Regions from separate parts of the Homo sapiens genome. Here region 2 is linked to region 1. The links are contacts of gene promoters, found by promoter capture Hi-C in blood cells and fetal thymus (Javierre and others, 2016). All regions are on one chromosome and are shown on one strand. Each heading gives the region's core, a stretch centred on a gene start or on the middle of the fragment in contact. The rest is flanking DNA. Distances are from core to core; before and after follow the strand shown.

Evidence for each region. Contacts are between HindIII fragments. The CHiCAGO score rates a contact against its expected background, and 5 or more counts as called.
Region 2: the fragment with the promoter of INIP here is called in contact with the fragment with the promoter of ECPAS in region 1 in 5 of 17 cell types (total CD8 T cells, naive CD4 T cells, naive CD8 T cells and 2 more); the score reaches 11.4 in total CD8 T cells.

Annotation. Positions count from the first base shown.
Region 1 is chr9:111,481,835-111,488,008 of GRCh38, forward strand. ECPAS (Ecm29 proteasome adaptor and scaffold) reads right to left here and starts at 2,549. Exons shown (of 50, transcript NM_001364929.1): 1 at 2,282-2,549. RefSeq lists silencers at 1,179-1,598, 1,869-1,988, 2,109-2,648. The HindIII fragment of the contact is 4,796 bases long and covers 715-5,510 here.
Region 2 is chr9:112,714,849-112,721,022 of GRCh38, forward strand. INIP (INTS3 and NABP interacting protein) reads right to left here and starts at 3,269. Exons shown (of 5, transcript NM_021218.3): 1 at 3,139-3,269; 2 at 1,613-1,693. The coding sequence starts at 1,637. RefSeq lists an enhancer at 2,851-2,950 and a silencer at 3,321-3,480. The HindIII fragment of the contact is 2,113 bases long and covers 2,692-4,804 here.

The sequences.
Region 1 (6,174 bases), core at 1,299-3,798:
AGATAAAACCAGTCACAAATTCTGTATGATTCCATTCACACGAGGTAGGAAGAATACTCAAAATCACAGGGACAGAAAGTACAATGATGGTCGCCAGGGGCCGAAGGGAGGAGGGAATGAGGATTTGTTGTTTAATGGGTATCAAGTTTCCGTTTTACAAGACGAAGAGTTCTGGAAATGGATGGTGGTGATGATTACACAACAGTGTGAATGTACTCAATCCCACTGAACTGTACACTTAAAAAATGGCTAGGACGGGAAATTTTATGGTATGTGTACTTTTCTTCCAATTAAAACAAAACATGGAACTGATCTCAGAAGGCCTGGTGGTGCTTCCACGTGGAACCGACAGAAGAGCAATCTGTAGCCCGCTTCTCTCTCTAATCGCACCATGAGACCTTGTCTCCTCCGACTCTCCAATCTGCTCAGGATCACACCAAGTGTTTACTTCAGCTTCAAAAAAAGCAAACAGTACTCCTGCTCCACCAGTTCTGTGTCAAAGCAGCAAGGAACTTAATCTCTCCAAACCTGCCTCCTCTTTAAAACAAGGATAATTCCTACCTATCTGCCTCACAAGGTTGCTATGAGGGCAAAAGTGAGATCATGTATATAAAAGTGGCTTTAAACTGACAAGCACCAGAAAAACATACATTACGTGTATAACTACTTTCATATGGAAATTCAGAAGCGGCTTTAACAACGTAAGCTTCATAAAGCTTGCAACACCTCACCCATGCTTTATTCCATTTAAAACCCACATCATCTTCAAATAACACCTTTCTTGTTTTTGCCATAAACTGAAGGGCAGCATTGGGAGAAAAAAAAAAAGGGAAAGAAAGAAAACCCTTGGGGGGGAGAACACTCAAAACGCAATCAGAAATTATCTCACATGTCCTATGTCCTATGAAACTTCGGTATTTATGACCCCAGCGTGGGTCCGCGGCGCCCCGGAACTACACTTCCCACAAAGCATTGAGGCGAACCCCGGCGGCGGGCGGGGCGGCCTGGGATTCAGGGTGACCACCGCTCTCCCCAGACAGGGACCGCCGTCCCCGGGAAGGCTGCACCGCGTACGATCGAGGGGGCACTAACTCTCCTTTCTGAAAGCGCTGTCACCCCGTGGTTTCTCCTGCGGTTCGACCGGCGACCCTCTCCGCCCTCCCTGCTCCATCTGAGGGTCACCGCCTATTCGTGACCTTTCGGCTGATTACTAGAGTGTCACAAAAAGGCACCTTCTCCCCCTTCCCGAAAGCTCCATTTCTATAACTCAACCAGCCGTCGGGGACCCGGGGCCAGGCGGGGTCAGACGGGACGGGCGGACACTGCCCGTCACCCCGGGGCTCCGGCCCTCCCGCCAGCCGAGGCTCAGTGGGCAGGGGGCTGGGCTCCCCCGACCCCGGGCCAGGGCGGATCGCGGGCAGAGGTGGCTCCGCCCGGGGCTCCGGTTTCAATTTCGCAACGTGACGGTGCAAACCTGAGGCCTACAAACGCCAGCGGCGACGGTCCGCGCCCCGCCCGTCCGCCAGGCCCGGGCTCCCCAGCTCCCCGTACGCCGCGGCCGCCGCCCGCCCACCGGGCCTGGCGCCCCAGCCCTCATGCGGCCGCCGGCCCCCGGCACCGCGCGGCGCCCGTTCCGGCTCGCGGCCGCAGGTTCGGCCGCGGCACTTACTCAGCTCATCCTGGGAGGCGGAGGCGGCGGCCGCAGCCATGTTGCGCCGGGGAGGGAACGAGGGAGGGGCTGGGGGGGCAGGGCGCGGCCGGGGGGCTCGCGGCTCGCGGTGCGGCAGGGGCCGCGAGCCGCCTCCGTTCACTCGGCGCGGACCGCGCTGTGCCCCGAGGCCCGCCCGCCGCCGCCGCCTGCGTCCTCCGCGTCGCGAGCGTCGCCCTTCGCTGCCCCCGCGAGCTCGCGACTCGGGCGCTCCCGCAGCCTCGCGCCTCTGCGGAGCCGCTGCCGCTGCCGCCGCCGCCGTCTGTGCGGCCGAATCCCCGTGCGCCAGGCCCGCGCGGCGGCTCTGCGACTCCGCGCCGCGCTCGCCCAACTCACGCCGGTTTTATATTTAGAAAGAGCTGAGCCATCCTCCCAGCGGCCCCCCCGCCGGGCCCCTCGCGCGCCCGCCCGCCCTCGCTCGCTCGCGGCTCGTCCTGCCCACCTGTCGCCGCCCGCCCCGCGTGCGCTCCCCGCGCGGACTCGACACGCGGCGGCCTGTGCGGGCGGCCCGGCCTAACCGCGCCGCCGCGCGCGCAGGGCCAGTCCCCCGCGGCCCGGGGGCGGGCCTCTGACCTGAGTCGGAGCCGGTCTCCATGCCGCGGACGCTGCGCTCGGCGCCGCGAGGTGAGGGCTGTAGAGCGAGGCGTTCGGCGGGCCGGGCCCCGGGGAGCCGCGCGCCGCAGTCCGTGAGGGGCTGGGCCGAGCGGGCCCGGGCTGCCCTAGCGGCCGGGGGAAATCCTCGAGGCGGGGCCGGAGCGCCCTTTTCCGAGGTCTGCGGCTGTCACGTTGGCTGGGCCCGACCTGGGGAAACACGCCTGTCCAAAGGAAGAGACGTGGACTCAGAAAAGTAGAGCCGGGCTCGGAGTCGGCGGGAGGAAGCCCCGCCCTGCGCCTCCCGCCGAACTTCTCGGCCCCGGCGCTGACTCAGTCCCGGACGAGCCCCTGCGCCGCAGCGGCCCCCGACAGCCCAGTTCTGGTGTGGAGGTGGCTGGTGCTCCCAAAACGGCTAGCGGGAGCAGGGGGTCCACTCAGCCCTGCAAAAGTTAGATAAGGCAAGATTCCTAAAGTTCACATGGAAGTATCTATGCCTATGTGAGCTCTGAGATTTTGTTCAGATACCCTATGTTCTTTTCGGTAACTAGAGTGATTTATTTTCGATATGCTGATTTTAACTTTCTGCCTTCGCTTTGTCCGTGAGGTCATGTACACTTGCAAAATGAAATTCAAATTCAGGGGTTGCATAATTGCTGTACTTTAAGTGATGGTACTGTCATAACAAATTAGATACAAGATCAGATACTTTTTTTATATAAGAAGAAATCAAGTCTTAAATAGATTGAAATTGCATTTATTCCTTAAAGCAGAAATCTATAAAGCCCTAAGTAATGTCTTAAAAATGGAATATATGTCATTCCTGTTGTAACATAGGCCAAGTACAAGGTACAACACTGAAGACATTTTTATTTCCTTTATTGTTTTTGTTATAGAAATTATACATGATCTTGGGCCGGGCGCGGTGGCTCACGCCTGTAATCCCAGCTCTTTCGGAGGCTTAGGCGGGTGGATCACGAGGTCAGGAGTTCGAGACCAGCCTGGCCAACATGGTGAAACCCTGTCTCTAATTAAAAAATACAAAAATTAGCTGGGCGTGGAGGCGCGCGCCTGTAATCCCAACTACTCGGGAGGCTGAGGTAGGAGAATCGCTTGAACCCGGGAGGCGGAGCTTGCAGTGAGCCGAGATCGCACCACTGCACTCCAGCCTGGGGGACAGAGCGAGACTCCGTCTCAAAAAGAAAAAAAAAAGAAAAATTATACATAATTTTTGTAAAAAAAAAATGCAAATGATTTGGAGTATCATAAAATTAAAAGTGAAAGTCCTTCCTCCTAGCCCCACCATCCCACTCTGCAGAGAAATTATGACTAACAGTTACAGTTAAGTGTGCAGAAGACCTTTTCTCTGGACATATATATACAGCCCCATGTATGGCTTTGATGGGGACAGGTTTCTACAATAAAGTTCTGGATCAATTATTCCTTCACACACATTGTTCCATGTTAATTCAAAACACTGCACTACCATCACCCTTTTTTGTTTGTAACTTCATACTACACTAAGTTAACCAACCCCTTTTTTCATGTATGCTCCTCTTTTATTTGATGTTGCCTCCAAAATAAATACACAATGAACTACTTACAAACAATAGAGAGGTGTATACAGGTCTTCTCCCAACTGCATACCCACCATCCCCCCTCATCCCACTCATGCCCATAAATAATCCCTATTAACAGTTTGGTGCATTCAACCTTTCCTTACTGTTTCCGTGACTATAGAAAGTAGCTGCACCAAAGACTGGTTTGGGGAAATTTGACTTCCCATAATTTCAAATGGATCCTTCCAAAGCCACCCCAGATAAATACAGAATCTGAGTAAAAAACAATGGGTTTGTTATTTTATTTTATTTTTATTCATTTATTTATTTATTTTATTTTATTTTTTGAAACGGAGTTTCGCTCTTGTTGCCCAGGCTGGAGTGCAATGGCGCGATCTCGGCTCACCGCAACCTCCGCCTCCTGGGTTCAAGCGATTCCCCTGCCTCAGCCTCCCGAGTAGCTGGGATTATAGGCATGCGTCACCACGTCCGGCTAATTTTGTGTTTTCAGTAAAGACGGGGTTTCTCCATGTTGGCCAGGCTGGTCTCCAACTCCTGACCTCAGGTGATCCACCCACCTCGGCCTCCCAAAGTGCTGGGATTACAGGTGTGAGCCACCATGCCTGGCCGTTAGGCAATTTTAACCTCCAGGCAAGACTAGTTAACAAATCCTTAGTTCCTCCTATGAAGAAATTCCAGGTTCTCTGCGTGTACAAATCACATGAATGTGTGTACACAGATTTTTGTTAGTTTTGACAAAAATGGAACTCTACTTCCCATATTATGTAACGTTATCTTTTCACCAAATAATGTATTACAGGTGTCCTTTCATATCAGTAATGATAATAATGGCTAATGGAATAATAATTATGCCAGACACCATTCTAGTGTTTTACTTGGATGAATTCATCTAACCCCCACAACAATCTTATGAAATAGGGATTTTTATGGCACTGGATGGTTGAGGAACACATCTAATGTGCCACAAACTGGAAAGTAAGTGGTGGAGCTGGGATTTGAACCTGGGCAGTGTGGATTCAGAGTCAGCTTGCTTAATCACTAGGATCAGTATGTACAGAACTACCTCTTTTTTTTTTTTTTTTTTTTGAGAGGGAGTCTCGCTCTGTCCCCCAGGCTGGAGTGCAGTGGCACGATCTCAGTTCACTGCAACCTCCGCCTCCCGGGTTCAAGCGATTCTCCTGCCTCACCCTCCTGAGTAGCTGGGATTACAGGCATGTACCACCACGCCCAGCTAATTTTTGTATTTTTAGTAGAGATGGAGTTTCACCATGTTGGCCAGGCTGGTCTCAAACTCCTGACCTCAAATGATCCACCTGCCTTGGCCTCCCAAAGTGTTGGGATTACAGGCGTGAGCCACTGTGCCTGGCCTCATTTTTTTTTTAAATGGCTGCATGATAAGTACCAACAAAATGTATTTAACCATTTCCCTATTGATGAGCTGTTAGGTTGTTTACAGTTTTTTACTAAACAATACTACTGTAAAACATTCTTATACATATCTTTATGTAATCACATATTTCTAGATGTAGATGTGGAATTGTTAGGCAAAAAAAGATCTTAAAGTCTCATTACATACAGTAGTTTATAGCAACTTACAGTGCTACTTCTGATCACTACTGTGTAAAGCTCTAAGCTTTTTTATACTTGCTTCTTCCATCAAACTACTTGTAGTTCATTTTTCCCACTAAATAGCTTCATGTTCATATGAAACACTTAGGTTTTGAATAACAGCAGCCTTGAGATAGTTCCTGTCTAGAATTCACTTCAGCTGTCAAAAACAGAGGCAAGAAGGAATTGGGGTGAGGAGGAAAACAGGAGCCAGAGAAGAGGCTACTGAGAAACCAAAATAGGATATCATAGAATCCAAGAACTAAAAACCTGTCCCCTCTCCTCTCATGTAGGCTGTCTTCACATCAAACACATATACAGTTCTAACAAGATTTTTAAAAATCTTGTTTCCAGCGTTAAAGCAAAATATTTGAAAGCATTCTTCTTCTGGGCAGATACATGGATGACAAGTGCTAACAGACACCTAAAAACAAAGAAGCATACAAATTATTAAGCTAGGCTGGGCCAGGCACAATGGCTCACATCTGTAATCCCAGGACTTTGGAAGGCTGTGAGGCAGGAGGATCCTTGGAGGCCAGGAATTCAAGACCAGCCTGGGCAATCTAGCAAGACATGGTCCCTACAAAAAATCAAAAAGTTAACCAGGTGTGGTGGTGCACGCCTGTGGTCCCAGTACTGGAGAGGCTGAGATGGGAGGATTGCATGAGCCTGGGAAGCAGAGGTTGC
Region 2 (6,174 bases), core at 2,019-4,518, 1.2 Mb after region 1:
GTGTACTTACACAAACACAGATGGTATAGCCTACTACACAACCTAGGCTGTACGGTACAGTCTGTTGCTCCAAGGCTACAAACGTGTACAGCATGTTACTGTACTGAATAGTGTAGGCAACTGTAATACAATGCTAAATATTTGTGTATCTCAACATAGAAAAGGTACAGTAAAAATATGGTTTAGGGAACACTTATTCTATTTTATGAAATGAAGTGTTGCCTGATTCTAGAATCACAAATAAAGCCAATTGAGATCTTAAAATACACACATACATACATACATACACACACACACACACACACACACACACACACACACACACACACACGGTTTAAAAGACAAAAAATGGTATACCTGTATAGGGCATTTACCATGCATGGATGCATGGAGCTTTCAGGACTGAAGCTGCTCTGGGTGAGTCAGTGAGTGAGTTGTGAGTGAATGTGAAAGTCTAGGACATTACTATATAGTACTGTATACTTATAAACACTGTACACTTAGGCTGCACTAAATTTATTCAATTTTTCTTTCTTCAATAATACATTAACCTTAGCTTACTGTAACTTTACTTTATAAACTTTTAAATTTTTTTAACTTTTTGACTTTTGTAATAACACTTAGCTTAAAACACAAAACACTGGGCCAGGCACAGTGGCTCATGCCTGTAATCCCAGCACTTTGGGAGGCCAAGGCGGGCGGATCACCTGAGGTCAGGAGTTTGAGACCAGCCTGACCAACATGGAAAAACCCAGTCTCTACTAAAAATACAAAATTAGCTGAGCGTGATGGCGTGTGCCTGTAATCCCAGCTACTCGGGAGGTTGAGGCAGGAGGATTGCTTGAACCTGGGAGGCAGAGGTTGCAGTGAGCCAAGATCATGCCATTGCACTCCAGCCTGGGCAACAAGAGCGAAATTCCATCTCAAAAAAAAAAAAAAAGTATTTTATTTATATCTTTATTCTAAAAGTTTTCTATTTTTAAAATTTTTAATTTTTTTTACTTTTTAAACTTCTTGTTAAAAATGAAGACACAAACAAACACATTAGCCTAGGCTTACACAGGGTCAGGATTATCAAGATGTCACTTAGGCGATTGAAATTTTTCAGCTCCATTACCATCTTATGGGACCACCATCCTATAAGCAGTCTGTCATTGACCTAAACATCATTATTCAGCACAAGTGTATTTCAAATTTAGAGTTTTACTTTGATGTTCTTCTTTTTTTCTTTTTCTTTTTTTTGAGACGGAGTCTCACTCTGTCGCCCAGGCTGCAGTGCAGTGGTGCAATCTCGGCTCACTGCAACCTCCGCCTCCTGGGTTCAAGAAATTCTCCTGCCTCAGCCTCCCTAGTAGCTGGGATTACAGGTGCCCGCCACCATGCCCAGCTAATTTTTGTATTTTAGTAGAGACGGGGTTCCTGACCTCAAGCAGTCCACCCGACTTGGCCTCCCAAAGTACTGGGATTACAGGCGTGAGCCACCGCTCCCGGCCTGCTATTCATTTTTTAAATTCTGGCTACAGTAACTGCCCTATGCTAAATTTTCTCTTATTCAAATACATTTACTATATTGGGGAAATGTTCATAGTAAAGAAATTCCTGCTGTCATTACCTTGTCCTGAAGAGTTTGCTGCCATTTTCCTATTTTGTTTCAAGTATGTCCAGTGGCAATTGGTCAGCACTTCACAATCACCTATAAAATATGTGTACACACATATACAATGCACCATATTTTAATCACAAACTAAAAGGAACAGCTAGCCTCCTTACAATGAAATGTTTGCTGTTTCTTAATCTCTTCAGAAAGATACATTTGTGCCGGGCGCGGTGGCTCACGCCTGTAATCCCAGCACTTTGGGAGGCCGAGGCGGGCGGATCACGAGGTCAGCAGATCGAGACCATCCTGGCTAACATGGTGAAACCCAGTCTCTACTAAAAATAAAATTAAAAAAAAAAATCAGCCGGGTGTGGTGGCAAGCGCCTGCAGTCCCAGCTACTCGGGAGGGCGAGACGGGAGAATCACTTGAACCCGGGTGGCGGAGGTTGCAGTGAGCCGAGATCGCGCCACTGCACTCCAGTTTGGGCCACAGAGCGAGACAGCGAGACTCGGTCTCAAAAAAAAAAAAAAAGAAAAGAAAGAAAGATACATTTGAAATGTACACAGACTGAAACAAATGTAAACTCTGCTAGTGCCTCAAGCATTTAATTAAATACGGCATTGTTTATTCTTGCAGATGTTCATACCATTTAGCATTACTGTCTTTAATAAACGTCATTAGGTTGTATTTACCAAATATATCAACCAATTGATAGAGTCAATATAATCATGGTGCTAGGAAGAAAAATCATTCATCTATGGTGTCTCTGCATTCGTCTAAAACACATACCCAAAAACTACTGTGTACACTGAAAGCTAAAAAAGGTAAAGGAGTACTGTATCTGCTCTGCACCATACACTGTGTAACATGCTCGAAATTAGTTCCTTTATTTATTTATCACCATTTTATAGATGAGGAAACCGTACCCAGGGTCATAGAGCTAGTAGGAATTATTTGGGCTGCTGGTTTCCAAACTTCGTGCTTTCGTACTAAATCCTGGGGAGATCCAAGATGAGCAAGACCCTAATCCTGCTTTCAGAAGGGAAAATAAAGTCTTATTCAAGCAACCATACTATTAATTAAAAAAAAAAAAAGCTTAACAAACCCGCTCTTTAAAAGGTGGGCACAGTGCCGGAGGCAAAGAATTGATTTCATTGGCAGCAAAGAGTGATGCCTTAGTCTAGGGAGCCCGGGAAAGACACAAGGGATAGAAAACAGACACCGGTTTTTAGTAAATGAATCGTTAGGTGTCTCCAGCGGCTGAAACACAGAGCGAGCAATGCGGGGTTAGGACTGGAGGACAACAGGGCCATCTTGTGACAGGGTAGACTGGCGTGCCAGAAAGGTCCCTGCCTACGGATGTGCAGAGCCGGCTGGGCCCGGGCTGTGAACGAGACGAAGGAAGCAAGTAGGAGCCAGAAATGTTAGGTGGCAAGGTCGGAAGGGAGGTCGCTGCCTGTAGCAACAAAGACGGCGGCGACAGGTTAGCACCGGAGCCACACTTTTCTATTGCCCGGTGCCTCCAGACTGTCGTACTTACCTGGGACCCGAGGACACCGGGACCGCCTCTCCTTACAATCGCTGCTCTTAAAGGGGGCGCGACCACTTAGGCAAGAGGAGCTCAACTCGCGGCACTACAACCTTCCCGCCCCCGCTGCGCTTCCGCCTCCTGACTGACGTGCGCCCCAGGGAGCGGAAACCCCGCCTCCCGCCGGGACCCAACGGCCACCGCCCGTCGTGATTCGCACTTTAGCGGCCACCTCAGTGCAGACGTCACTTTTTTTTCCAAAGAGTGACAGTCGAAGAGGCTCACGGGAGATGCAAACGGTACTTTTGGGGGCTGGGCCAGGGTGGGGCGTGGCCCGGGGCGGGGGAGGGGCGGGGCTGCCAGGCAGGGGCGGGACGGAGAACACCTGGGTCCCTAGCACCAAGACTGGCTTTTTATTCATTGCCACCGCCTGGCCGGTCTTGCGACGGTGCGAGTCCACCTCGGCTGGGCCTCGGAGGAGGGGCGACTCTAGAAGCTAAACTCGCTTTCGAGCTTTAACAACCATCTCGGATTGCGCATCCGCACACACACACACACACACACACACACACACACAAATTCAGGAATATTTTTTGTCTACAGTTTACATAATTATACACAATGAAAGCACTGAATATGGAGGATTTTTATTACAGTGCAATAATCTGCATTTAAGAAGTGGATGTGCCACATCGCAGAACACCAAGTTGCCACTAGTGGGATCACCTGCTGCCCACCTGATTCCAGCACAGTAGATAGCTACACATTTGAATTAAAAGGTAATCGTATATTGACATGTGTTCAAATTGCACTCTTTTTAATTTAAAAAAATATTTTTTATGGTGACAGTGTCTCGCTTTGTTGCCCAGGCTGGTCTTGAACTCCTGGCCTCAAGGGATCTGCCCACCTCAGCCTCCCAAAGTGCTGGGATTACAGGCGTGAGCCACCTGCCCTGCTTAAAATTGCAGTGTCTTAATCTCTTCCGAAAGATACATTTGAAAAACGCACAGACTTAAATCACAAATGTAAGCTCCCCAAGCGCCTCAAGCATTTAATTAAATAGAATGGATAATGAATTTGAACATATGTTTTTAATAATTGATGTTTGCTCAAGAGTAAAATGTTTATGATGCACAATTTTCTTGTGCATGGATCAATGACTGAAATAATCGTTTCAATATCAAGTATTTATTTACTGAAAACCAAGCATGTATTTACTCTATACCAAGCAGCTATTGAGTGCCTTCTACAATGCGAGGTGCTTCCTGTGCATCAGCTCTGGTCCTGCTGTTCCCTGATTTATATTTGAGACTCATGTTTCTTGCTCTATGTCAAGTAGCGAGCTAAGATTCAAATTTAAAGATCTGCCAGATGCTAAGGCCTGAGTTCTTAAATCTCACACATTGCCTCTGCTCTGGAGGAATGAATTCCTCTGAGACCAGTTCTTGCTGACTTGACTTTAATCCAGATATAAAGCCTAACACATGAGCATTTTGATGGTAGGCCAGGAGTCCTTTCAGTTAAGAGGACTTGGTGAGTTCTAGTATGACTAAAAAGATGACTGAGATCTATATGGCTGATAGAACCTTAGAATTTTTTTTTGTTTTGTGGCCTAGCTAATATAGAAACTAGGGCACAGAAAGTTCCAGTCTAAGTTTCAAATGGACATTCTGAACAAAGCTTATTTAAGGAGGTGGGAGTAAAAACAGTTCTAACCCTAAACAACATTTTATAATTTCTTAGCAAATTCAGCCTCTGAGAGTTGAAAGAACATTATCAGGAGAAAGATAAATTTAACTTGCTGCCAATTCTTTTGCCTTTTACTTGGTAGGTCATAGCCCTTGAAACCCTTCTGTCTTCTCCTAGAGTTTTTGGAACTTCTGCCTCATTGTGTTAACCTCTAACACAGTGGTTAATAGTGAGTCAGTTTACTTGAATGCAAATTCGAGCTTTGCCACTTAATGATGGTGAGCCCTGGTTTAACCTTTTGGTGCCTCTGTTTTGTCATCTATAAAATGGGAATAAAAATAAGTGATTGGGTATACGTAAATCACTTAGAATAGCACCTGGCACATAATAAGAACTCAATAAATGTTGACTATTAGAATATAAACAATGAACAATCTGTTTTACTGGGTGTCTTGGCAAGTGGTCAGTAGATCAGCTGAGCCTGGGTGTGGTGGCTCATGCCTGTAATCACAGCACTTTGGGAGGCCAAGGCAGGAGGATTGCTTGAGACCAGCCTGGGCAATATAGTGAGACCTCATCTCTAGAAAAAAATCTAAAAAATTTGCCAGGTACGGTGGTGGGTGCCTGTGGTCCCAGCTACTTAGGAGGCTGAGGTAGGAGGATTGCTTGAGCCCGGGAGGTCAAGGCTACAGTGAGCTATGATTGCGCCACTGCAGTCCAGCCAGGGCAACAGAGCAATAGACCCTGTCTCCAAAAAAAAAAAAAAAAAAAAGAAAAAGAAAAAAAAAAAAGAAAAAAAACGTCAGCTGAGAAATATACTAGGGGAAAGTCCAAGACAGAAGGAGTGCATGTTATAGCCCCTTGGCTCTATTAACTGATAGCTGTCTGTGAATTACTTTATCCTGAAACCACTGTGGTTACAGACCTTCAGTATCAAGGTAGAGTTGACAGTAGTTCCTAATTTCCAACTGAAACCACTCTAACCTCCTTTTCTGGTATTTTGTGATAAAGTATTTGGGGATCTGCATGAGGCTAGACAACCTTTAAAATCAAGTGTGTAGCAGTTTGAGACAATTACTGTATTAGTTATCTATTGCTGTGTAACAAATTACCCTGAATCTTGGCAGTTTAGAACTTGGGTTTAGAACCTGGCCCTGCACTTACTGGGTGAACACTTAGACAAGTTATTTGTCTGTTCCTCAACCTCCTTATCTGTGGAAAGGGGTATTAAAAGCACCTACCTTATGCCATTGTTTTAAAGATTAAATAAAATCAAACCAGATGCCTCATACCTATAAGCTATTATTTTCTATTAAACATTAACTCATTAGAGTATTAAAACAATATGAAACATCATGA